Linked DNA regions of Homo sapiens: region 2 is linked to region 1. The links are contacts of gene promoters, found by promoter capture Hi-C in blood cells and fetal thymus (Javierre and others, 2016). All regions are on one chromosome and are shown on one strand. Each heading gives the region's core, a stretch centred on a gene start or on the middle of the fragment in contact. The rest is flanking DNA. Distances are from core to core; before and after follow the strand shown. Region 1 holds the start of PPP1R3C (protein phosphatase 1 regulatory subunit 3C). Region 2 overlaps HECTD2-AS1 (HECTD2 antisense RNA 1).

What was found. The method cuts DNA at HindIII sites, captures the fragments that hold promoters and counts their contacts. A CHiCAGO score of 5 or more calls a contact.
Region 2: a contact is called between a fragment that was not itself captured here and the fragment with the promoter of PPP1R3C in region 1, in 10 of 17 cell types (naive CD8 T cells, total CD8 T cells, non-activated CD4 T cells and 7 more). The highest score is 8.9, in naive CD8 T cells.

The regions. Positions count from the first base shown.
Region 1 is chr10:91,628,935-91,636,122 of GRCh38, forward strand. It overlaps PPP1R3C (protein phosphatase 1 regulatory subunit 3C), which reads right to left and starts at 4,137. Exons shown (of 2, transcript NM_005398.7): 1 at 4,022-4,137; 2 at 1-1,932. The coding sequence starts at 4,035. The coding sequence ends at 993. RefSeq lists enhancers at 3,768-4,269, 4,270-4,769 and a silencer at 4,104-4,243. The HindIII fragment of the contact is 3,050 bases long and covers 3,111-6,160 here.
Region 2 is chr10:91,308,040-91,314,634 of GRCh38, forward strand. The region is part of intron 4 of HECTD2-AS1 (HECTD2 antisense RNA 1); the gene reads right to left. Among named protein-coding and RNA genes, the nearest start is that of PCGF5, 91 kb to the left of the region's middle. The HindIII fragment of the contact is 2,333 bases long and covers 2,164-4,496 here.

The DNA.
Region 1 (7,188 bases), core at 2,887-5,386:
TGTACACTGACAACGGTCTCAAAGATACAACATTATTGCAGGAGGAATGCCTGTGTACAGAGTGGACCATCTTATGAGGCCAAAAACCCATGAGTTACCAGATGACCATTCAGATATTTGGGTTAAACGATGACAGTTTTCTGGTTTAATCAAGGCACTTGCAAAGAGCTATCTTTGACATGACATGAAGTCCCTACGTGTTGTTAGCCATTAATGATGGCATGGTTTTTCTATACCAAGCATTCTATAACAAGAACCCAAGCCTGACAGTTTGATCACAAAGTCACTTATAACATCAGGACTACAAAGCCAGATTTGCTTAAACTTTCCCCAAATTATGATTTTTTATAGATCACATCTGAACAGAAAGGCTTCACTTAAGATCTTGATTCTCCGGAGCTATAATTCATCTTCTTTCTCCAATACCACCCACATTCTTAAAGGTTATTTAGCTTTTCTCCACAAGGATACGTAGAATGGATCTTTTTCCCCTCCAGAAATAATTTCCCCAGGAAAGAATTGTAAAACCAACTTAAAAACACAAAATAACCTTACGTTTTTCCACCAACAATGATCAGACCTCCCACTCCTCTGACTTGAGCTTCAGAGCCCTTTGTGTATACTTTTCACACATTCCTCATACCATTAACACAGCTTTCCATCACCATCAGCCATCCTTCCTCAACTTTTCCTTGCCCAACATGAAAGCTAGTGGATTGAGAGGGAAGGAAGAAGGGAACTGAAAAAGTATTACCTTTATAAAAATAGTTTTCAACCTGTTACTTGATCCTTCAAAGCCAAATTGGGTAGCATCATCTGTACAGACCCCAACACTAAATTCTCAAGTGTCTTTCTTTTCCATAGCCAGGTCTCAAAAGCTCAAATCTAAACCTACTGATGGAGTAGCAAAGGCTTCCTAAAATTGAGCAATACAGACCTAGGATTGCATGGGGGAATATGACAAGTCAAGACCAGTTACATTGTTGCTTAATTCATCGATAAGAGGCCAAGTTCTCCATTCTCCCCCAGCTCTGCCACTCTGGGAAGAGCCCACTAGCCAGCCTCGGACTGCCAAAGATTGTTGACTCTAACTCTGTCTTAGGAGACGTCTGGTGGAATGCACAGTCCTGGGGTGCCATCTGTGTCTGCACCCCATCAGGCTTCCATTGAACATGAACAATTCTATAATTCTGACCATCATTGTTGTCCCAAAAGACTTGCCCATTAGCATGGTAAGAAATGCAGAACTCAATTTTCTGCTCAGTTGGAATGACAGGGGGTAAGTCAATGGCAAATGAGAAGGTATCACTATCTGTGCCACCATACACATTTTTCATATAGACACAGTCTACGTCAGTGTAGTTTTTCCAAGAATCGAAAGTGATACGGATCTGAACTTTCTTCTCAAAACTCACATTTTTGACTTTAACAGTCCCTGTCACTGTTCGCTCTTGCAACGAGCAGTTCTCCAGACAGACAAAGTTCTTCTGAAAGTGGCTCCGGAAACTTAAGTAATCGGTTGAAGGCTGAGGGAAATCTAAAATCAAGTTTTTCTCCTCGTGGTGTTTTAAGGCAGAGGAGATATCATTAAGGTCCAAGAGATCAAACTGCAGATCCCACGCTGGTTCTTCTGGGAGGTCGGAGAAGACATGGATCGCAGTGAGAGAGAGGCCCTTGGAGTCAGCAAACACAACGCGCTTCTTGGCTTGGTTGTGTGAGCACTTCCAGTCATTCTGTGATTTGGCTTTGTGTTTTATATTGAGACATGATTTCAGGGGCTTTAATTTATTCACAAAATGTCGTCGTTGAAATTCATCGTACGGGCCCAGGAAACTCTTCACAGGTGGTGAATGTGCCAAGCAAAGCCTCATGGCCACATCCACGGGCATGACCGAACTTGTCAAAGGACGTGGATCTAAAACCTGGATCATTCTGGAATGCAAAAAGAAGAGGGATTATCACCTGGATCGGAAATGCTCTTCCCCAGTGCCAAATACATATGTACTATTTTTGTGCTGACTGAATTATAGCCAGTGCACTAGATATCAGGCAGGTGCTATCATATGTAGTAAAAGAGAACAGTATTAAGTGATCAGATCTTCTATGTCTACCTCTACCCTTGGCCGGCTAAAGGCTATTAATTGCTTAAAACACTTAGAGGGTGATGGGGGTCTCAGTTTCCCCATCTGAGAAATAAAAGGGTTCGATTTGATTATCTCCAAGGCAGCCTTGAGAACTGTGTGCTCTGTTCTGGACCAGTGGTCCTCAAACCTGTCTGGTCACTATGTCTAGGGAATTCATTTTCTTTCTTTCTTGTCTTTCCTCCTTTCCTCCTTCCCTCCTTCCTTCCTTTCTTCCTCTCTCTCTCTCTTTCTCTTTCTTCTTTCTTTCCAATTCCTGGGACTCAGAACTACTGAGGCAGAACTTCTGGGGCTAGGGCCAAGGGATGGGTATGTTCTTAAAGCTTCCCAGGTGATTCTAATGACCAGACAGGTTCAGGAGCCACAGTTCCAGACCCTCTGCTCCCTCTGGCTACGTTGGCTTATTTTGCTGCTAAATTGATTGACACTTCTCTGGTAAGGTAATTCACTTGAAAAAAAAAAAATAACATGCAACAGTTTTGAGAGTGAGAAGGCTAGAGAAGAAGTCAAAGAATCATCTTTGCACTTTGATTATCATGCTCTTATTTTTCACAAATAACCACTGAAATACAAGCCAACAATTCATATGCACTTAAAAACTATATAATTGATAATTCACCTAAAGAGATGCCCATGACAAGTCCACATTTAAGTGGAAAAACTGATTACCTGAAAGTTGGAGTGTTTTAAAATATACATTTTATATATACAAACTTATAAATATTGAAAAACTCTATAGGAAATACACCTTTCCTAATAATTTAATAATTATTATTTCTGGGTGATAGGATTATAGATTATCTATTTTCGTTTTTGTTCTTTTTTGGCATTTTCTAATAGACATTTATAAGTAGAAAGACAATAAAACCATTTAAAGTTTTAAACATGACTATGCTCAGCAATATTAAACCAAGAAGCATCTATAAAGAAGACTTTTCTCTGACCTTTAGCCCTCATCATATATTTCCAAGCTTATGGTATTAAGATTTTTTTCCCTATCTTAGCCTTACAAGTAAGAGGTGTGTGTATACTGTACACGACATTTCTCAGTCTGGCTTTAGTAACTCTCCTCACAGCAGCTCTAAACATGTATGCAAGTGGTCATTATCACAAAAGTGTGTAATAACACTCGCAGAATTTACTGTGTTAGCTCTGGGGTTTTTCTGGGAGATCTGCAAACTTAGAACAAACAAATGAAAGCTAAAGCTATATTTGTGGGTCTAATAATAGTTAATAGGCAGGATTTTTAGAGAAGTCTTCTGCTAAGCTATGTCTGGAGAAGCTATTTAAAGTAGTTTTATGGGAGGTTTTTTTTGGTTTTTTTGTTTTTTTTTTTTTACTTTTTGCATTTATAGAAAGACAGTTTTAGTTTGGGTGATTTCCTTGGAACTTTAAGTCCTGGACAAGAGTTAAAAGTAATCGTTTGCTCAAACTCTTGAGATTTTGCTATGGCAAACTGTGATAAGAAGGACGAATGAATGCAAACGTCGTCCTGTAATTTTTTTCCTCCAAGCTAAACCACCTAACCAGCAATGTCAGAGTGCTGTTCTCACCACTTCAGCTGCCCGAGTCTTTGGGACATTTGTGCAGGACCAAAAGAACAGCCGCATCCATGAGAAAATCCTAACTCAAGCTGATTCACGTTAAGATAATTTCTGCTTTAAGATGCTGATTACTAAAATAGGCTCTGCTTAAGAAATAGAGCCAAATTTCTACACCTCCAAGGCCTCTCGGTTGCCAGATTCAACTACGCAGTCAGTCCACTTGTCCTCCCCCTGGGGTGTCCATTTCCAGAGATGATAGAACTGAAACGCCCCCCAACTTCCCCACAGCTGCGCGTTCCCCTGTGTTCCTAGCGCGCAGAGTTGCAGCGAACCTACCTGGTGCAGCTCATTAGGCAGAGAGGCGGCGGACCCTAAAAGCCAGCACCCGCTGCCTGCACAAATTCGAACCACAGCTCCAGGCCTTGCCCCCGCGGCGGTCGCTGGGAGAGACTGAGGGCCCGGCGCCTAGAGGCCGCTTATCTGCTCCCAAGCACGTGACCCGATCCCTGGGACCAATCGCCGGGCCTCGAGCCCCAGGGCGCGACCAACCAGCGCCCAGCTGGGGCGCCAGCCCTCGCCCCGGCAACGTGATCGCCCCGGGGCGAGACGTGCAGAGAGCTATCTGGGCATCGCGGGGAGGTTCTGGGACTCCGCGGCCAGCTGGAACCAGCCGCGTAACGGGAACCCTGGGCTAGGGGCCGGGCAGGCACGTACCGCATGCAGCGGGCGCCGGCCAAGAGAGAGCGCAGCCAGCCTCGCCCAGGCGGGGCGCCAGTGCCTCAGGCTTGGGGCGGCTGTTACTTGGGAATAGCTTTGTGGGTCACTGCGGGTGAATCTGCACACAGAAGATGTGGCTCAAACCGAATGTGTATCGCATTTGAAATGTTTATATCGTTCATTACCCGGTGTATCCGCATTTCTCCCTCACCTTAGCCTGCGCGATCCCAAACTGGCTGCATGCTTTTCGATTAGTATGAGTTCACAGATGCACCACACAGTAGACAGCTGCCGGGAATTACCAACTTATCTAACAAATGTTGTTAGGAAAGCATACGAGCCCCATAAAACACCAAGGTGGCATTTAATTAAAAGACACTTCGTATTTCTGTCTATTCTTCAATTTTCTCCCCTGCGGGGAACACTAAAGCCGGAAGTGAAATGACCCTTTTCACACATACAGCCGGTCAAGAGGCAGCAGTCAACCCAAACCCCTTACTCAATTCTGACGTCCTTTGGCAGTGGTGTGGAAATCAAAATGTTAAAATAAAATTTAAAAAATCACGCCGTATGTTTCATGGGCCTTCTGAGCCACTCACTTTCGCTGAAGTTTCATTATTTTGATTAGTTTGAAGAATTTTTAGACCATCATTTACAACTGTAAAATTAAATGTCTAAGTCAAGTCTAAATTATTTTTATAAAACCCACATCCTAGTTTTGCTCCCCTAATTGAGCTATCCATTAGTCAATTAAAATATACAAAAATTCCTATGTCTTTTAAACAACTGTCAAACAGTGGAATTGTTAAAATTATTAGAGTGAAGAAAAAAATCACACTGAATATCACTGGGAAAGGGACTTCATGCCTGGGTTTTATTTTTGAAATGAAATATCTAACTAATGGCAGGTCTTCTAGCCCCTTTAGCTCAACCAAAACTAGCTGGAAGGTCTTTGGATTGACACTTACTAGCTACACGAATCTAGGCAAGTTCTAACCTCAGTTTCCTCATGTGTAAAACAGAGATAGTAACGTTCTGAAGATGAAGTAAGATGGTGCCAATGAACAGACTCAGCACGATGCCCAGTGCCTGTGTTCCACCCGGGCTAGTTCCCAAGTTTCTACTTGATCTCTCAGCTAGAGTTTTTACTCTATCACCTCAAGGCGCCTGGTGCCTGAGCTAAAATATTGAGAATAGCTGCTGCTTGTTGAGCCTTTACTCTGTGCCAAACACTATGTGCTATCAATTCAATCCTCACAACAACCCTATGTGATATGTCCAATTATTAATCCCATTTTAGAGAAAAGAAAACGGAGACACTGAATGGTCAGGAAATCTGCCCAGTGGATCACTTGAGGCCAGGAGTTCAAGACCAGCCTGGCCAACATGGTGAAACCCTATCTCTACTAAAAATACAAAAATTAGCCGGGCATGGTGGTGCACACCTGTACTCTCAGCTACTCTGGAGGCTGAGGCAGGAGAATCGCTTGAACCCGGGAGGCGGAGGTTGCAGTGAGCTGAGATTGCACCACTGCACTCCAGCCTGGGCAACAGAGCGAGACTCTATCTCGAAAACAAAAAACAAAAAAAAAACCTGCCCAGGTTCTCACAGGTAGAGCAGGGATTAGAGCCTGGCTGATACCAGAGCAATAACCGCTGCACCATATTGTCTTATTTTAATGACCCATCAATGGTTAGAATTATGGAGGTAGGAGGTGATAGGCATCAAACTCTTTATTTCACAGATGAGGAACTGAAAGCTTAGACAGGTCAAGCTGCTTGCCAGGGGCTGGCTAGGTCTGAGCCAAAACTAGAACCCTGGGTATTCTTTTCCTCTACCCATGATTATATGTTGAGCTAAATAGTAAATATTACCAGTTAAAACTATGGAGAAACATGAATAACAATTTATGGTGATCGCATTTTGAGGGAAAGGTATCCATGCATAGAAAACAGAATGTGCTCTACAGAAATGTGAACAGTTCATTTTGGAATGGTGAGATTATGAGTGATTAAAAATGTCTTCGTTGTTTTGCTGCTCTGTTGTTTTTCTTAATTTTTCTACAATGAACATACACGACCTAATTAAGAAATAATTTTTCAAGGGCGTTAAAACTCTGGGATTCAACTAACACATATAGCGTACTGCTAGGTGCCAAGAACCGTGGTGGAAATTTTCACATGCTTGTGCCATTTACTCACACCACCCTTTCAGCCTGTTCCATTCATACAGCTTTCTCTCCTGCCCCCTGGTGTTGACTAATGCCATAGAAGTCACTCTCCCTTTCAGCTCCTTCAAATGGAAGATTCAGGGAGACCATGCTTTCTCCTAAAAGGACTCAACACTCACTCAATAAACCTCTAAATTGGATGATCCAGGCTTTTCACTTCTGTCTCCTTCCCAGCTTTTGCTCCCCTTCATTATTGGATGAGAGAAACTAGGATGGAATCAGTGTTCTTAGTTGTAGGTTGCACCAATGAAGACAGAGTAGAAAGGAATCGTGGGGAGTTGTACTATTATTCGTAGGATTTCTCCCACTGTGGTTTGGCAGCATCTAAACATTGCTTGGTCCTACCCATCTTAACAATCAATCTATCAGCAGGAAATTATTGAGCTATGCAGTAGTTCCAGCTCCATGCCAGGGGTTACAAAGTCTGAGCAGTCATAATCCTTTGACCTTGAGGAGGTTACAATCATTATTACAGAAAAACAAATTCATAGAATACCCAGCAGACATTTTAAGAAGCTACTAAGCAAGGAGCTGATAATTGTGGGGCTTACACAA
Region 2 (6,595 bases), core at 2,080-4,579, 320 kb before region 1:
AACATAGCAGGACCTCGTCTCTACTAAAAATAAAAATGAAAAATAGCTGGGCATGGTGATGCCTGCCATTAGTCCCAGCTACTCAGGAGGCTTAGGCAGGAGGATCACTGGAGCTCAGGAGGTTGAGGCTGCAGTGAGCCATGGTCATGCCACTCCACTCCAGCCTGAGTAACAGAGCAAGACCCTGTCTCAAAACAAAACAAAAAAACATAAAAGAATCAGAAGATATCTAGCAACCCTCCCAGTCAGTATCCCCTCACCTCAGGGTAGCCATGCTCCTGACTTCTGACATCATAGAACATTTTGCCTGTTTCTGAACTTTAAGGAATCATACAGGATGTTCTCTTTCATGTCTGGCTTCTTTCTCATTGGTAAGATGCATCCATGTTGTTGCATGGGGCTGTAGTCCATCCTTATTGCTGAGTAGTATCCCCAGCTTTGTATTTAAATGTTATTTTTCTTAAAGTAGGCTAGAAATCAATAATAGAAACATAGTAGAAGTAGCTATTTGTTCTCCTGATGATCTATTGATCCTGATGGTAAAATATCTAAATCATACAAGCTGCCTGGAACTTTGCAGAAGAGAGAAACTGATCTTATTAAGTTGGAGGCTTCATTGAGATTCTTCTTATGCTGCTCAGCTCAAGTGAGGGCACGGGCTGCTTCCTCCTTATGAAGTAGGAAAAACAAATGACCCACCTCCTGCCCTTGCGCAGAACAGAGCTTCTGAAAGAAAAGCATGCTGCAGCTGTCCTTAAAAGTGACCCTTTCAAAAAACTTAATCAGACTGCATATTGTTTATTTCAGCAAATAGCATTCAATGACTCTAAAGACAAATAATGCCTTACTGCAATTTGTACATAATTTTTGGAAAACAATACTATTCTAATTTTTACCAAGCAAGCAAACAGTAATTTATTCCCAGGGCTGTTCTAGTAGACCTTTCTTCACTTGCCTTGAGATACAGATTCTGAATATAAATTCCATCAACACCTGTAGTTTTTCTTCTTTACCCTCTGTAAGAATTAGAATGCAAATCACGAACCCCAATTCTTAGAAACCTACCACTTCTTATCAGCCAGAATTATATCCAGGTCCGTTGGAAAAATCAACCACTGGCAAAGGGAATGAGATTACCATACTTGGCATATAACAACAGTGTTTATCCCTAAAATGAGGAATACAGTCCCCTTGCCTGAGTGACTTTCAAACAAAACAATGGCTCTTCTGGCAAGGGAGACAGGGAGAAAGATTATTGGGCTAAAAACTACCCAACCATTATCTTCCACAGTCTACCTCTTTGACTTCCTAGCTTCCATACATTGTTCAAAAAGTGCTCATACTTCCACAAAATGCACATAGTCCTTCCAAGGGTGAAAAGAACCTAAAGTCTCATCAAGAAAAAAACAAGATAAACCCAATAAAACCTTTCATTCAGAAAAGTGACTGTCATCACTGATCCATAGCACATGTTATTTCCTGAAGGACATCAATAGCAAATACTAGTTCCATGACCCAGGAATCGAGTGAGTTTCTCTGTCAGCCCCATGGACGTCCCTAGTTCCACTCCACTGGAGCCTCCCTTGCCCATTGTCTTCCATGGCCATTTCTGGGGTAAGCGTTGAAGAAGATGCCCTCCTGGATGCTGCCAGATTTAACAGCTCACTTCCAGTAGATACAGATTCTATGGCCTCAGGACAATAGGGCTTGAATTGTTCCAGACTTTTATCAGTTTGAAATTCACTTCTGGTCAGGTCCAGGCACCGATAATGGCCAGTCATCTTGTCTGAACGAGGCCTGTGAGAGCCACAATCCCTCCTCCTCCCCACATGTCTCTATGATTTTCCCACCTTCAAGCACGAAGTTTAATGGCTTCCACCTTGAGGCAACTGGTAACAAAAGCCATGTGGTGGAAGAGGGTGTGAAGCAGGGGAGGGGTGATGTCACCTGTGACCCCAGCCCTCCTGGGTGCACCTAAGCTAGATAGTGCCTCCTGTCTTACAAAGGATGTGTGGTGAGGGATATTAAGGAGAGGCATGGGGAATCAGATTTGCTTTTGTCCCAATTTTATCAGTCATATCTCCGGAGAAATTTCTTTTTTCTCTACCTTTTGGGAGGTGAGTAGGAGAAGGATATCAATTTTGTACAAAATTGGGATTTGCAAGCTTGAAAATCTCCAAACTATGGCCTTCAAATCGATTTAGATTCTAGGTTATGGGCAGGAGGAGTCTGTATTAGCAAAACTCAACTGTCTTCCCTTTCTGCATTCAGGCATGTCACTTTTCACCTAAACTTGCCTCTTAGACTATCCCTTTCTCAAAGGCTTCAAGCAATAACGAGCATGTGCCAATATCCCCAATTTTCCTACCAATACCTCTAACCCTACAGTGTCTATAGGCACAAGAGCAGAGTCCCAAAGTCCAACTTGTGACAAAATAACCAAAAGCTACAGACTCAGAAATTTTGAAATATGGCTTTTACTGTTATAAAATACATAAGAGCTACATTTAGAGAGAAATGAAGGAGTTGACCACCAGCTGAAGTCAGGAACTATCACACCCAGTTTCACATTTTCTCTATTATATACATGTGTAAACTCCAGTTTCCCTCTGCCTACATCACCTTTCCAGAAATTCTTTTAGGATCTACAGGGAAGGGAGGCTCTTTTCCTCATAAGTAAACATACTTTTAAAAAGAGATTTGAATATGTATTTTGAAAACAAGATGAATCACAGCAAACAATATAAAATATAAATCTGAAAATAGATCAGGATATACAGCTTACACGGGGAGGATCATATCATTTTGATGAGAAGAACTAAAGGGAATACAGCATTGAAAATGTCTTTGTCTGGCTAGGCATGGTGGCTCATTCCTGTAATCCTAGCACTTTGGGAGGCCAAGGTGTATCACCTGAGGTCAGGGGTTCGAGACCAGCCTGGCCAACATGGCAAAACCCCGTCTCTACTAAAAATACAAAAATTAGCTGGGCATGGTGGCACATGCTTGTAATCCCAGCTACTCAGGAGGCTGAGGCAGGAGAATCACTTGAACCCGGGAGGCAGAGGTTGCAGTGAGCCGAAACCATTCCACTGCACTCCAGCCTGGGCAACAGAGTGAGACTCCATCTCCAAAAAAAAAAAAAAAAAAAAAGAAGATGTCTTTGTTCATTGAGATTTTTAACTTTTAAAAAACATAATATGAAGTTCTGTTCATTAGGGACAGTGCCAGTTAAAGTTTGGTTTAAGGCAGTAGCTTGTCTTCAGTTTTCCATTAATAGCCAATTGATTTTCCTCTATGACACTGGGAGAAAATATGAGGAAGGGTTCACCATTGATCCTTCTGATCTCTGCACTCTTATTCAAAGTCAAAATTCTAATCTGGCAACATGCTGCACAAACACCAGCACTAACACCAGCATCTGGGGCTTCACTATGTGGTTCTGATGGTATAATTCTCACCATGTGTAGGTTTGATGATATCTAAGCCATATCAACTTCCCTCCCAGAAAGGAGTACTCCCATTTAGTTTTGAGTTGAATGTTAATCAATTCCCTTTATACAAGTTCAGCATAGTTGAACAAAACAGAACCATGTTCCAAAACCAAGGTTGATGCAATATATCATGCTCACCAATTTATCCCTATTAGTACATTCCTGACACATGGCCAGTGCTCAATAACTACTTACTGCATAGATGAATACATGAAAAAGACATGGCCACTGAGCAGCTCAGACAGCCTTGGCTTTGAATATTTTGCTGGTCACATTAAGTTATTTGCAGTTTACTGACAAGGAACACATGGGGAAGCCAGATGTTTGTAATTTTGAAATAGTTTATAGTTTCATTAGACTTTGAGTCTTGCTTGTCAAATAGCATTTATTAATATCCACTTTCTCCCAGGCAGAGCTCTAGGCATAAGGCAGAAAGTTAAAAATTCCAGAATAAATCTCTTTCTACATTTTTCTTCCTCCACTTCAAATACCTGATTCTAAGCCAGGTGTCTGTGAGATCCAGCCCCCAAACACTGCAATGACTGACTCCAATGAGGCTCCTTAAAAGCTGCCTTTCCTTTCTCCTCCCTCCAATCTCAGAAATAACCACTGCCTTCCAATTCCTATAACATTGTTCTTAGCACTCATATAGTAGCTATTATTGCAAGTTGCACACATGGAGATAGAATTACTAAAAACACATGGCTTTCTGTCTTTCTGTGCTGTGTCATGAGTTTGTTGGAGGGAGACACCCATTTATAAATAACACACATTTGTCAAATCAATGAATAAACAACAGAGATGCATCTTTCCTTCTCTTTAACTGAGAATTTAAAGGTAAAAAATGTATACTGGATAAAGTTCCTTTCTTCAGTACTGGACAAATAAGGGAAAAGACAGGGAAAATCTACTATTTAGCTAGAAAAGCGGCAAAGGGGAAAAGTCTTATCTCTGGGCTCAGTCATCTGGGAGAATGCACATAGTAAGTGAAATTCTTTGATAAGCTTCTCATCGAGACAGGTCAACTATATGTTTTCCCCTTGACTTCTGGCCTATCTTGTGACTCAGCTGTAGCCAATGGAAAGCAATGGAAGTGATGTGGCATAACTTCTGAGGCTGTCAGCAAAGGCCATGCTGCTTCTACCTGATTCTCTTAGGGTGCTCAATCTAGGAGAGCCTGCCTCTGCCACCATCTAAGAACTTGGACTATCCTAGGACCATGGGATTGCTGTGCTGGAGGTGCCATGTGTTTGTGGGCCTCTGGTCAACAGTCCCAGCTGAACCAGTCAACAGCCAGTGTTGGGCACAATGGCTCATGCTGTGATACCAACACTCTGAGAGGCTGTCATGATGGGTATCACTTGAGATCAGGAGTTTAAGACTGACCTGGTCAACATGGCAGAACCCCATCTCTACAAAAAATTAAAGTTAAAAAGCAAAAAAAAAAAAAAAAAAAACCCAGCCAGTGTCAACTATCAGCCATGTGCATGAGCCACCTTGGACATCCAGCTCAGTCAAACCTTCAGGTGACTGCAACCCCAGCCAATATCTGACTGCAACCACATGAGAGACAGTGAGAACTGTCAAACTGTTTCTAAACCTGACTCTCAAAATACAATAATTGTCTTAAGCTGCTAAATAATGGGGACATTCACTACACATTAATAATAACTGGACCAATTGCCTCTGGGTATTACCACTGTAGAAAAACCCTGAATTTTTCTTCTCTACTCTTGAATGGGGCTGTTGAGCCCTTTGTCAATTTTCAGACCAAGCATATACAAAGACATACAAGCATAGGACCATTCATCAGTGAGTGTCTTACTCCATAAATGAAAACAGGCTGGGCGCAGTGGCTCACACCTATAATCCCAGCACTTTGGGAGGCCGAGGTGGATGGATTACCTGAGGTCAGGAGTTCAAGACCAGCCTGGCCAACATGGGGAACACTGTCTCTACTAAAAATACAAAATTAGCTGGGCATGGTGGCACATGCCAGTAATCCCAGCTACTTGGGAGGATGAGGCAGGAGAATCACTTGCACCTGGGAGGTGGAGGTTGCAGTGAACTGAGATCGCGCCATTGAACTCCAGCCTGGACAAGAGTGAGACTCCAACTCAGAAAAAAAAAAAAAAAAGAACAAAAAACTTTCAGAGCCTGCACATGTAGCATCCATCAGAATGTAAATTAAAATCATAAAAGCTTTCTGGAATGAAAGCAGCCTCTGCTTAATTAAGGCAAGCAGTGTAACACCTGTTAAGATGAGCGTCATGAGGATAATTATTAGAGGCTTCTACAAAGTGATGTTTCTTAGTTACTGAACAAAGACTTGGTTACTAGAAAGGCTCAGAAACTATTCTCCTCTGAGAGGAAATGAGGGAGTAAACATTCACAGAAACAACTTGTGATTGAAGCTAGCTCTGCCCCCACGTAGGGGAGCAAGGCTGACTTCATGTTGTACATCCCCGTGACTAATCTCTGACAATCAGTCTAAACTACAAATGTTCTCCAGCCAAGGCAACAGTAGGAAACTTTTCCATATGGCCAAATCTTTCCACAGTCAGTATGGTTTGCAGGATTTGTAAATTAGACCTTTCACTTGCACAAAAGGAAATAATTGTACATGTGACCATTTGTTCTTCCTTGCTTTGTACTCCTTTCCATTGGAAATGTGCCCCATCCACGTGTGGCTGTCCTTCAGCGTAATGAAGAGCCTTCTAGAGGCTGTCTCCTTCCTTGCAGACCCTGCTCTTTTCTGTTCAGCCCTCAGCACTCCCCACATGTGGGAAGGAGTGGGCTGGCCTTCGGGGTAGTTCAAAGAGCTGAGCTGCATCACATCTCATCTTTCCTCACAGCCTGGCAGGCCAGGACCAGGGCAGCTCATGTCTAAGCACACACAGGCAAGGATCTGATTATTAGGAGTGACTTCTTCTAAGTATACCTCTAGCTCTACTTGGGACTGAGAACTGAGAACTGTACACCAATTCTTGGAAGCCCCCTGCTTGAGCGATCTTGTTGGAAAGATCCCTTAGAAATCCAGAAACGCAGTGTATTGCAAACTATGCTTAGAAAAGCCATAGGAACACAACTCAGGGTTGCCA